2 separate regions of the Homo sapiens genome follow, and region 1 is linked to region 2. The links are contacts of gene promoters, found by promoter capture Hi-C in human tissues and cell types (Jung and others, 2019). All regions are on one chromosome and are shown on one strand. The core of a region is centred on a gene start or on the middle of the fragment in contact, and the rest is flanking DNA. Distances in the headings are between cores, read along the strand shown. Region 1 has its middle 110 kb from the start of TMEM170B. Region 2 holds the start of PHACTR1 (phosphatase and actin regulator 1).

Evidence for each region. The method cuts DNA at HindIII sites, captures the fragments that hold promoters and counts their contacts. A contact is called where the count stands out against the background at its distance.
Region 1: a contact is called between a fragment that was not itself captured here and the fragment with the promoter of PHACTR1 in region 2, in 1 of the 25 tissues and cell types used here (lymphoblastoid cells).

Annotation. Positions count from the first base shown.
Region 1 is chr6:11,648,350-11,655,202 of GRCh38, forward strand. No RefSeq gene overlaps it. Among named protein-coding and RNA genes, the nearest start is that of TMEM170B, 110 kb to the left of the region's middle. RefSeq lists enhancers at 1,781-2,386, 2,387-2,992. The HindIII fragment of the contact is 5,050 bases long and covers 154-5,203 here.
Region 2 is chr6:12,712,521-12,718,649 of GRCh38, forward strand. It overlaps PHACTR1 (phosphatase and actin regulator 1), which reads left to right and starts at 4,247. Exons shown (of 15, transcript NM_030948.6): 1 at 4,247-4,376; 2 at 4,989-5,223. The region is part of intron 1 of LOC107984015 (a long non-coding RNA gene); the gene reads right to left. The HindIII fragment of the contact is 3,467 bases long and covers 3,899-6,129 here.

The DNA.
Region 1 (6,853 bases), core at 1,429-3,928, 1.1 Mb before region 2:
TCTTTGTGCTTTTTTGCTATGATGAATAATGCTGCTATGCACATTTGTGTACAAGTTTTTGTGTAAACATGTGTTGTCATGTCTTTTGGGTATATACCTGGGAGGTGAATTACTGGCATCTATGGTAACTCTGTGTTTAATCATTCAAGGAACTGCCAGACTGGTTGACTGCAGAATGGTTTCCAAAGCAGCTGCAGCATTCTGCATTCCCATCAGCAGCATATTAGAGTTCTGATGTCTCCACATTCTCACCAACACTTGTTATTATCTGTCTTCTCTGTTAGAGTTATTTTAGTGGGTGTGAAGTGGTGACAGACAGGACTAGCCAGATTTCTTAGGCCGACTAAGAATTCCACAGCCTAGCTGGGAAAGGTGACCGCACCTACATTTAAACACTGGGCCTGTAACTCAACTCACACCCAACCAATTAGGTAGTAAAGAGGGCTCACTAAAATATAAATTAGGCTAAAGCAGGAGGATAAAGAAATAGTCAAATCATATATCGCCTGAGAGCACAGGGGGAGGGACAATGATCGGGATATAAACCCAGGCATTCGGGCAGGGAGCAGCAACCCCCTTTGGGTCCCTTCCTATTGTATGGGAGCTCTGTTTTCACTCTATTAAATCTTGCAACTGCACACTCTTCTGGTCCATGTTTGTTATGGCTCGAGCTGAGCTTTCGTTCGCGGTCCACTACTGCCGTTTGCCGCCGTCACAGACCCGCCTCTGACTTCCACCCCTCTGGATCCGTCAGGTTGTCCACTGTGCTTCTGATCCAGCGAGACGCCCATTGCCGCTCCCAATCGGGCTGGAGGCTCGCTATTGTTCCTGCATGGCTAAGGGCCCAGGGTTCGTCCTAATCGAGCTGAACGCTAGTTGCTGGGTTCCAGGGTTCTCTTCTGTGACTCACGGCTTCTAGTAGAGCTATAACACTCACCGCATGGCCCAAGCTTCCATTCCTTGGAATCCGTGAGGCCAAGAACCCCAGGTCAGAGAATAAGAGGCTTGCCCCCGTCTTGAGAGTGGCCCGCCATATCTTGGGAGCTCTAAGAACAAAGACCCGCACGTAACAGTGGTATCCTATTGTGGTTTTGATTGATCCTTGGGGGCTAATGACACCCAACATCTTTTCATGTGCTTGCTGGCTACTTGTATGTCTTCTTTGGTAAAATGTCTGTTCAGCTTCTTGCCTGCTTTCAACTGGGTTATTTGTCTTGAGTTGTCATAGTTCCCTATATATTCTAGATACAAGTCCCTTATTAAATGTATGATTTGTGAAACTTTTCTTCCACTCTATGGGCTTTTTCACTTTCTTGATGGTGTCTTTAAATCATATATGTTTTTAATTTTGATAACCTCGTAGGACTTTAAACGGTGAATTATTTTTTCTTTGCCTTTGGGTCATTAACAAATAGACATTAATAAACGTGGTGATAAAAATGTTTGCTAAGGAATACATGGTGAAGTGATCTGTAAGAGGGAATTCCAGATTAATATAAAAGGCAAAATGAATGGATAGAAACTGTAGCATTAGACGAAACAGCAGGAAGTAGGGTACGGTGGGAGAAGATGTGGTGTGGAGAAGGGCAGTCCTATATATGCAGGAATCACTCCAGTTGCCGAATACCAAAAGGCCCCTCTTCAGTGTCATTGTCAGAAGGAAATATCCTTGAGGGACAGAACTCACGTAATTAAGGACAACCACAAGGAGATTATAGTTTATAATTTTCTGCATGTTCTTAGAATAAACAGACCCCCCATAGCAATAACTACTTATTAATGAAGTCAGGTGTGCATGCTCATTCCTAGCCTGGTTAGTCTATGGCATGCACATAACACAGAATTTTTGATGGATGAATATTTATTTATGCATGAGTAGCACGGATATTACACTTGCAGATGAAGCCAGAGTTCCAGGTTGCTATCATCATTGTATGAATAGAATGGAGTTGTTTTTCCTTATTATTTTCCTTGTCTTTCTCCCTTCACCTCCCCCAACCTTGCCACTTCCCATCTAAACACAGGAATATACTAATCAGGGAAATATGCACTGCTGTTTAGCAAAGGGGTCAAACCCATTTGGATGGAATTCCAGGCTCAGCAGGCTAACAATGGCAGGAAACTGGGCCCTCAAGCCGGCTGCACCGGGGGGCTGTTGAGCGATAGCTTGTTGAAAGAGGCGGCCCTGGGGTATGCTACTTTGGCTTGCTTTATGTTTGGAATGCTGCGATTGTTCCAGACACAATGAGGGATCTGTCTGTCCACACAGGAGCAGTTATAATTACAGGAACAGAAGCTAAATTACTGCTCTTAATTGCAAATGATTCCATTGCAGCCTGTATACAACTCTACTAATTTGTCCTCTGGGCTTTATGGGGGCAGGCAGGATTTTTAATTTAATGTCTTTGGTGATTATGCTTTATGTCCACTTCAAATTGTAATGCCCTGCCGGTGAGGCCAGGGTCCCTTCTGCTTCAAGTTCATACCCTTCTGTACTACCTGTCTTGTTGATTTTGATGATTCAGGCCAGTACATGATGTTGCCTCTGCTGAGAAGACAGGGTGTTCAAAGTGCATCTGACTCTGGTGTCCTAAAACCTTGCTTTGTTGCTGCCTTTAAGGGGCAATCATAACATCCTGTAGAGAGGTCTTCTTGTGTATGTGACTTAGGAAACACTTCCTACTTAGGAAAGAAGGTTGACATCTGGCCTGGCATTGTGTTCTGGAAAAGGCAGCTGCAACAGATGTGAGTTTATAGCAAACATCATCAATAAGTGGATGCTCTTTTATTGTGGAGTAGGATCTCTGTCCCTTTGTCTGTTAGGAAGTGCTTTGGGAAGATTCACCACCCTTGATAATTTAAACATCATTCCTTCATTCATTCATTCATTCAGCAACTGTTATTTGAAGGTCTACTATGTGCCAGTATTAGGAGTGGGATGAAGAGTAGAGTAAGAGAAGGCCTACGCTATGAGCTTACAGTCTCTGTAGGGATCCAAACACATAAATGAGTAAGGCAGTGTGATAGTGTCATGGCAGAATTTTACACGTTTCATGGCCTGCAGATAAGAAGTGAAGAATATTCCCAGAAGCAGCCACAAACCTTTCCTTCCAGAACATTGTCCAGAACTGAAACATGGACCAATATTAAAACAGTCACTGGTAAGTGGATAGGCTAACTCTTCGATCAATCAGGCCTGCCCAAGGAAAAGGGAGAAGAGACAGCTTTCCTAGAAGCATAGGGCAAAGGTGGGAGATTTAGGTGTCTGAACGAAATCCAGTCTCTGTTTAAAGAAGAAGACAGAATGATGCTGAGAGACACCCAATAATATCCATCACCTCAGACAGACATGTCAGAGAGCTCACTCTGGCAGCAATGTAGGGATTGGGGATGATGGGGCAGATTGAAGGCAGGGACATAGTTGGGAGGTGCTGTGGGATTCAGGGAGGGGGCTGAGAGCTGGAACTGAGGCAGAGATACGTGCCAAAGAGAGGAGGGATCAGTTCTGAGAGCTGCAAGGAAGAAGAATTTATAACAGTGATTCTTAAGCACTGGGGGAACGTTGGCCCCAAATAATCTGATGCTAGCAGTTTTACATTAAATGTCAAGCTTGCCAACTTGATCCATTAGCATCAGTGTGACCTCCATGACCAGGAAGCTGGACTGGTCAGCCCTTTGTTGGGCCACTCTTGGTTCTGATGGAACCAGAGATTTTTCTTTTCTGGGGCGAGTTGGGGACAGAGTCTCGCTCTGTTGCTCAGGCTGGAGTGCAGTGGTATGTTTTCGGCTCACTGCAGCATCTGCCTCCCGGGTTCAAGCAATTCTCCTGCCTCAGCCTCCTGAGTAGCTGGGATTACAGGTGTGCGCAACCACGCCTGGCTAATTTTTGTGTTTTTAGTAGAGACGGGGTTTTGCCATGTTGGCTAGGCTGGTCTCCAACTCCTGACCTCAAGTGAGCTGCCCGACTCGGCCTCCCAAAGTGCTGGGATTACAGGTGTGTGCCACCACAACTAGGTAATTTTTTGTATTTTTAGTAGAGACAGGGTTTCACCACATTGGCCAGGCTGGTCTCGAACTCCTGACCTCAGGTGATCCACCCGCCTTGGCCTCCCAAAGTGCTGGGATTACAGGTGTGAGCCACCATGCCCAGCCGCACCAGAGATTTCTTTTTTTTGTTTGTTTTTGAGACAGTTTCACTCTGGAAGTTGCCCAGGCTGGAGTGCAATGGCGCAATCTCAGCTCACCACAACCTCCACCTCCCAGGTTCAAGCGATTCTCCTGCCTCAGCCTCCCCAGTAGCTGGAATTACAGGCATGTGCCACCATGCCTGGCTAATTTTGTATTTTTAGTAGAGATGGGGTTTCTCCATGCTGGTCAGGCTGGTCTCAAACTCCCGACCTCAGGTGATCCGCCGGCCTCGGCCTCCCAAAGTGCTGGGATTATAGGCATGAGCCACCGCGCCCAGCCATTGGAGATTTCTAACCACATCATGCAGGAGGAGGATGGATGAGAAGCAGCATTGATCAGGCACTGGCTACCTATATCACCCACTGCTTCTATAAGTACTCGGCTCAGCCCTCATAGTGATGCTCTGATGCCCATCAAGCAGATGGGGAAACTGAGGCATTTATGCAGTTCAATGTCATACCCCTGGAAAACAGCAGCTATGGGATTCCAGCTTGGGTTTGTGTGAGTCATAACATGACTCTGTCTTCCACCGGTGCTGCCATATTTGGTCCACACGTGAATTGCTGTGATTACCAGCTTTTTTCTTTCCTGGAGACCTTTGGTGGCCTCTATTTATGCAGCTGAAGGAGACACTTACGACCTCATTCCTGACAGTTTTGGGAGCTGACAGCAGAACATTCAAAGAATGACATCAAGTGGCTTTCCTCAGGGTCATTTCCTGCTAGTGATCTCTGCAAAGATCACATTCTTTAAGGATGTGTGGGGGTCAGAAACAGACCCTATTCTGTCAGGCGAGAGATGCCTGGAGCAGCTGTAATGGGCAGACGTGTGTGTGTGTGTGTCTGTGTGTCTGTGTGTGTGTGTGTGTGTGTGTGTGTGTGTGTGTACATCCTCTGTGACATGCTTTGCTGGTGAATACAACCCCTCCTCCCCCGGCCACACTTCGCTAAAAACAAACCAGGTCTGCTGGGGTGCATGACTCATGCTTGAACCGGAGTCTTCACCCTGAGACAATAATTCTCATTTTAAAAGCAAATGCTGAAGTCAACAGCTGCTGGGGTGACTTTGCCTATCTTAATTTGGCTTGTTAGAGACAGCACCTCCTTAGCTGCTTGAAGGAGAACTTAAGTGGACCTTCCATGACTCTGTTCCTTTTCCTATCCAGGGCTCACATAAGAGTTGTCTGCAGCTGGAGACATGAAACAGTGATAGGATTTGGAGTCAGGGTGTCCTGATTTCATGTGTGTGTTCTGCCCTTTTATTACCACACGGTGGTGGGCAATTTACCCACCTGAGCATGAGGTGCCTCACCTGTGGAATGGATGGAACCCTGCTGTATTGGAGAATGTTCACCCATTCAAGATAACGCATGTGAAGCACCTGCCATACAGTAGATGCTCAATCACGTGGATGTTAGCATTGACTTTGTTGCATGTTCTCTGCTTAGCTATCATTTCTCTCTTCCTCCTTTATTTTGCATTAATTTATTTCTGTAAAGGAGGAAGCTGCTGGGCACAGTGGCTCACACCTGAAGTCACCACTTTGAGAGGCCAAGGCGGGAGGATCACCTGAGGTCAGGGGTTCAAGACCATCCTGGGGAAAATAGTGAGACTACCGTCTCTAAAGAAACATTTTAACAAATTAGCCAGGCATGGAGGTGTGCTCCTTGTAGTCCCAGCTACTCGGGAGGCTGAGGCAAAAGGCTCACTTGAGCCCAGGATTTCAAGTTACGATTGTGTCACTGCACTCCAACCTGGGTAACAGAACAAGACCCTCTCTCAAAAAAATTTTTAAAGGAGGAAGTCATCAGTTATGTATATCACACAGATTCACTGGTGACTTTGCCACCTTTTCCATCCCTTTGAAGTTCTGCATCGCCGGTGGGAGGACGTTGGTCAGAGCAAGCAGAGTGTGGAGGCAGAAGCAGAGAGCGGAGGACCTCAACTCTCTCTCTCCCTGGGCTCTGCTCTAACTTGATAAGGGCCCACGGGAACATCACCTAAACTCTTGGGGGCCTGTGTTCATTTGTCTGTAAAAAGAGGGGCTTAAATTAAATGATCATTGAACCCTCCAAGCTCTTGCTGGGCTGTTTCTGGGGGCTCTTCTCTCTGGAGTATTGATTTGAATTTTGGTGCTGAGCCAGCCAGTGCACGAAATACTACCACTTTGCTCAGTCTCGTAGATGTTTTTCTGTATTTCCTATGTTCAGCATAAAGGGGGCCAGCCCACTACTGCCTTTAACATGAATTGCCCTTCGGAGTATGGAGCACGAGGCGAGCAGCGCTTGTCTCCGCTAATAGACCTACACATTTCCAGGAGAATTTTTTTTTTCTCCTTGCTACTCACAACACATCACTTGTTTATGTGAGGGTTTTTACACACAGCTGATTTATAAGGGATTAGATTTCTCTAAAACATAATCTGCGTTGGTTCTATTGGCCAGTTAAAATTGGTATCCCAGCACAGCTTGTTAAGACATTACATATCATTCCTCTTGTTTTTCTCACACTCAGGAATGATAGGTTAAGAAATATGATTCTAGTTCATAAAAGCCTGAGAGGGACTAACTGGGCTCTATTTATGTTTTATCCAAGAATGTGGAATTTGAAGCTTTTCTCAAAGTGAAAGTTGACCCACTGGACCCGTGTGCTTGGGCCAAATATGA
Region 2 (6,129 bases), core at 2,997-5,496:
GAGAGAGAATGAAAGAATTGAGGGCAATGTGATTTTCTTGCCAGAGGGAATAAGTCAAATATCATTATTATGTATCCTAAAATTCATGTAAAAAAATTACTATTGTCAATGTACTTCTCCATCATTGGGTGGTCATCTTAACGTCTTCATATTTAGATATTTGACAGTTATAGTAAGTAGAGAGTTGCTAGAGAACTTCTTGTTTCCTTACTCAACATTTCCCCCTTCCCCTATTTCCAGATGAACGACCTGGGCACAGAGATGGGGACTGAATCTGACTATTTTTTTCTCTGAAACAAAAAGATTTTCATATTATAAGTAAGATCAACTTACTAGAATCCAGTTGGCAGAAGGGTAAGATGACATATGAACTCTTGTTCTTTCCTCTCTCAACTGACCTTTCTAAAAAGTATTAACAGAAGGGAAAGGATATTTTCAGAAGTGGGCAGCAAGTGAGGCCAATGGATGTCCTCTGCCTGGCCCTGGCCCCACCATATTGTCCAGTGTGCACCTCATCCAGCGTGGCTGTCTCCAGGGCAGTTTCAAGAGCAGAGGGCTTTGTGGTTTTGGTGTGAAGACTTTTCCTGCTAACTGAGGATGGCCCAAGGGGAAACTCCTTTGGCACAACGTTCTTGAATAGAATTAATGAATCCACCTCTGAATCTATAAGGCAGCTTTGGCCCTGGTTCAAATGAAGATGCTAACAAATTTAATGCCCTTTTCTAACAGCAGAGTACCAGGTATCTTAAACTTAAGGAAGCCCTCAAAACATGACTGTAGGCTTATACGGAATAGAATTAAGGTCTCTTCCCTGAGACTTCTTTCTCCACACAGTTTCCCAGTCTTCCCAGCCTTCTTTAGCTTTCTAAGTATCATCAAAACTTATTCACGAGAAAGAACTGAAAGTTCAATTACTCTAAAGCCAAAATAACTGATGATGGCTTAACATGTTTTCTCTGCCATCAAGATTTCAATATGAATAAAGCCTTAGATAAAATACTTGCAGTACCCCTATCAATTAATGACAAACTTTATAAAGAAAGGAAAGGAGGCCACACCTGTAATCCCAGCACTTTGGGAGGCTGAGATAGGAGAATCAATTGAGGTCAGGGGTTCTAGACCAGCCTGGGCAATATAGCAAGACCCCGTTACTATTAATTTTTTTAATGAAAGAAAAAAAAAGGAAAGAAATTTCTTTCGAGGGAGGGGTTGGGAGGTAAAGTGACTTATCAAGCAGAGGGAGCCACTGCTATTGAAACATTCTGGGGTCAGGTCTTTGCAAAAATGAATGAATATTGTTTTCTGTGGTTGTCTAGCACGCTAGCACTTCAACAAAGATTATTAATCTAGGTACCAAACCAACAGATCCAACATATCATCACACTTTAAGAAAGTCTCTAATATTTTAAAGTTAAAGTTAGTTGGGTTTATTAGCAGAAAAAGAATCTTCTCCAGGATGTCATTTAAGTAGAAGGCCAGACCTCAATAGTCCAACACAAATATAAAACATGGTCTTCTAGGGAGCTCTGGAATATAAGGTAATTAAACAAGGAAAATTCATTGTAAAATTATAAATAAGAAGAACTGCTTTATCTCTTAGCAAAGAGGATAAACCCAGGCTGGTTCCAATGGAAGTCAACAGCATAATGTAAAAAGAGCAAGTTACCTACTTACAAATCATGTGATCTCTCCTGGAATGTTTGGGTCTTTTGCCATCTAACACAATAAATAAGCACACCCCCAAAATAAATACAAGCTTATATCTTTACTTGCCTCTAGATTCCATCATGAAGCATACCTCTGTTTTGAATTAATTGAATACATCTGCTTGTGTATAGAATACTCACATATGTATCCTCTTCCAACCAAACTAAAAACAAAAAAGTATGTATCTCTCTACCATCTCACATATTTTTAATAATTCTAGATTATTTGTTTCAACCTTACAGTTCTACACTTTCATATTTTAATGCCATCAATGTAAAACATATGACTTGATTTTGGAATTTTTAAAATAATATTTTATTTCTAGGTCATAGAGATATTTTAACACTGAATTAAGTTTTGCAGAGCTGAAATCTTGAGAATGTTTTGGGTTGGATTGTTCAGTGCCGAATACGTGTTAGCTTGAATACTTGATGTAACCTTGCCTTCCTCTCTGATTATTTCTCAGAACAATAGACCATTATAAGTGTTGTTTTGGAGCAGTTTAAAGTTACAAAACAGAATTGAGCTAATCAGATTTTGACATTGGCTTTTGAACATTACTATGCTTTACCATATTTAAAAATAATTTTTGAACACACACACACACACCTATATGTAATCTATAGCTATATTCCCCAGAGAGTGAGATCATTTTTTGAAAATCTATTACAGAAGTTGGTCATATGATGCTACAGAACACAGTGATAATTATTTAGTAAAAGTAAGTCCCTGTTTGCAAATGAATAATCATCCCCTTCCCAAATACATTTCTTTCTTTGTTTCTTTCTTTTTTTTTTTTGAGATAGAGTCTTGCTCTGTCACCCAGGCTGGAGTGCAATGGCATGATCTCAGCTCACTGCAACCTCCACCTCCCAGGTTCAAGCGATTCTCCTGTTCAGCCTCCCAAGTAGCTGGAATTACAGGTACCCAACACCATGCCTGGCTAATTTTTTATATTTTTAGTAGAGATGGGGTTTCACCATGTTGGCCAGGCTGGTCTTGAACTCCTAACCTCAGGTGATCCACCCACCTTGACTTCCCATAGTGCTGGGATTACAGACATGAGCCTCTGTGCCCGGCCCCAAATACATTTCTTTAAGTTGAAATTTTCCCTCCTGAGTTTTCTTAAATTACGACCCTTTCATATTATTTGTTCACTTTGTAAAGTATTTTAAATTTCTCTTTCTTGGTCAACTCTCCAGAAATGACTGACTTCCAAATCCACCACCTACCCCCTGGGAATCAACTCTATTTTTCACATTTCCAGTTTAGCATCTCTTTCTTCAATCACACATTCATTTGCACTCACCTAAAGGTTTGGTCAGCAGCATAGACTTATACTCTCTCTCTCTCTCTTTCTCTCATCTATGAGTCATTACAATTTCAGTAGAATTACAATAACGAGTTCAGAACCTGTCGCCCACACCTCACAGTAAGTAAAAGGAACCAGAAGACAGCTTTCTCCTCTTATAAATGTCAAGTGTTCAGCATGTCTCCAGTGGGTGCTGAATAGAAAAGTAACCTTAAAGAAGTCAGTCCTTGGGTTGGAGCAAAGCTTTCAGAATTCAGAGTCCATAGTTGACTTTCCTACAAGGGCATATGATTGGTAGTTTCAGCTTCCTTTTTCATGAGGCTTAACTGTCTGCAGCACCGGCTTGGTGTCTGATCTGTTCTGATCGGGTGGGAGAGGGAGACCCCACAAAACAAACAGCAGAGGATTTTCAGGTTTGTTTCAAGGGCAGCCAGCCGAGCTGTGTATAGGGAGTGGGGGGACAGGGGTGGTGTTGATGGTCTTCCTTCCGAGGCTTATCAAATGTAAATGCTCTTTTCTTAACAAGCTGACCCACTGTACACCACACCATACTAATGAGCAATTCTGCTTGGTCAACAAAGGGTGCAAGAGGTTGTGGAAAACCCACAGTAGGGCTTGCATTTGGCTATCACTATGCCCTGCATGAAGATCTCAAAGTACTGTGCCTAAAAGTCATTACTGAGGTTTGGTAGGAAGAATATTAAACCAGAATAACTTGAGATACTAGCCAAAGTTTATTTTTGTTGTTGGTATTATTTTGTTACATTCAGACAGAGAGAAATGCATTTAGGCAGACTGGCATGATCTGCGCTGGATATTTGACCAGGCAATCAGAAGCAAGGAAAGGAAGAAAGCCAGGCAAGAGGGAAGGGGTGACATCAAACGTGCCCTCTGTATTTCGCTCCAGAAAACAGCTCACAATTATGACTACCTGCCTTGTTTTGCAGCTCAGCATAAAAGTGGTGTTGCACCAAACCCTACTGGAGCAGCCTTCATGATTAGAAAGTACTCCACACCTTGGAGAGCTGAGGAGACATGAGAATAATTTTAAATGCAAATTAAATTGAGGGGGTAGCAGAGAAGAACACATAAAAGACAGTAAAACAAAACCTTTCAATTTTCTTAAATTAGCAGTCTAATGTGTTCTAAAGAGCAGCTCCACTCAGATCTCTTCTTAAGGGTTGCATTTCATCACAGTATAAATGGGCAAATCCATCACTTCCCTCTGCTCAGTGCTCTTGAAGCGAGATTGAAGGGAAAATTAGAAGCTGTTCATTTGTGCTTGCGGGCTCAGAAGCGTCGCACTGCTTTGTTTTGTACTCTACCGTGTCCTGTTGAAAGGGGTCAACAAGTGCCGGTGAGTATCCGCTAACTTCCAGACTCTTCCTTTCAAATATCTTTTTGGCTAATTTTCCTTTGCCGGGGATGGGGGTTGTGGGGGGAGTGGGGATCTCCCACAAAATCTATGCTATAATATGTCTTTCAGAATCTGGGAAATTTCAGACAGCTTTTTAAGCTTCTTCCAGTGACTGATTTGCAGAAGGGAAGAGTTATTTTCAGCCTAGATGCCGGTGGCTGTTCTGTGTATTAATTATAACAGGGGAATGTCTAACGTATGTTAAGCTAAAATGGCCTTTCCCTAAACTCCCCCATTCCCTGCCACTCTTAGGCCAGCATTAGGGTAATAACTGGTGCCCCCACAAAAATTTCTAGACAACTTTTCTATATATTAAATTTTTAATCATTTCATATTCTATTCTTTTGTAGCTGCAAATCAAACTAAGATTTGGGATTATGAAAATAAACAATGAAGACATAAATCTGTTTTGTTTTTTTTTTAATGACTATGGCACTTCTCTGCCTAAGAGATAGGGGGCTGGGGAATAGCCCTGCATGATGTATGCATGTGGATTTGATGATTTTCTGCCAAAGTTTTACACGGGAAACTGGTAATTTTCTCCCTTCGCAGGGGAGGGTGCAGAGGCTGAGGCTGGCGTCACCTTCCGTTGCTAAGGTAACGTGCTCTGGCCATTTTATCTGATAAAGGAAGTCCAGTGGACTGTATGCATTATTCATCACTGTTCTAATCAAACAATCAAAATCGTTTACTTTCACCGGGAATATTTAGCAAGATCAAAGACACTCTGGCTGGAACGGCTCTTGTTTTACCGCTGACAGATAGCCTTTGATTTTTATTTTTTGCAGTAAGTATATTTGCTATTGGGGTACCTTTGGGTATTTTTAAAAGTTTTGTCTTACCGGACTTGGTTTCTTAAATTAAAATACATACTGTTAGAAAGAGAAACCAATTGGATTAGACTTCCAAGCTTGGTTTTAATGACTTTGTCTTGTTAATTCTTTCCAAAAAAATATTCTGCAGAAATAGAGATAATTCATTTGTGTGAGTATCAGGGAAAGGCTACATAGGCTTGAAAAAAGAACCCAACAGGCTGAATGTTTTCTGGGGAAGTATATTAGCTTTGTGACAGGCTAGTGTATGATAATATAGGGATCACTGTAATGCTGCAATCATTCTTGCTGCTCTACAAACCACAATTGTTTCTCAAAAATCAGCCCCTGCCAGGCACAGGCAGGTGACGATCCTCTAGCACTTTATAAAATGTGCTGAAGGGAATCGCCGGAAAGGAAGGAATTCAAAGCATTTGTACAGCAAATATGTCAGTGTGTGTCATAAACGCACGGCATCTATGAGTGGAGGCTCGGATTCCCAGGCAATTTTCCCTGCTCCAGGGGAATCCGAAAGTCCCAGGATGAGCTGAGGATCAACACTCACAACGGCTGACACTTAATGACGCTATTTATCAAATAGACCTTTTGAAAACTGATAGCATGTGAATTTAACAGTATATGTTCCAGAGAATATAAAGCAAGGAAAGGCTGGTATGTTATCTCTCTTTAGATCAGATCATCTGTTTTTCCTGAGTAGAATATATTACTTTTAATGAATGTTGGCTAAATGCGGCATTTTCTCACACGGTAGGAAAGCTATGCTGGGGGGTGGCTTTAGAATTGCAAATGTCAATCAAGTAGTAGAATATTATAATGGGATATTCTTATTCAAACATTTTAAAGTACATCTATATATACAC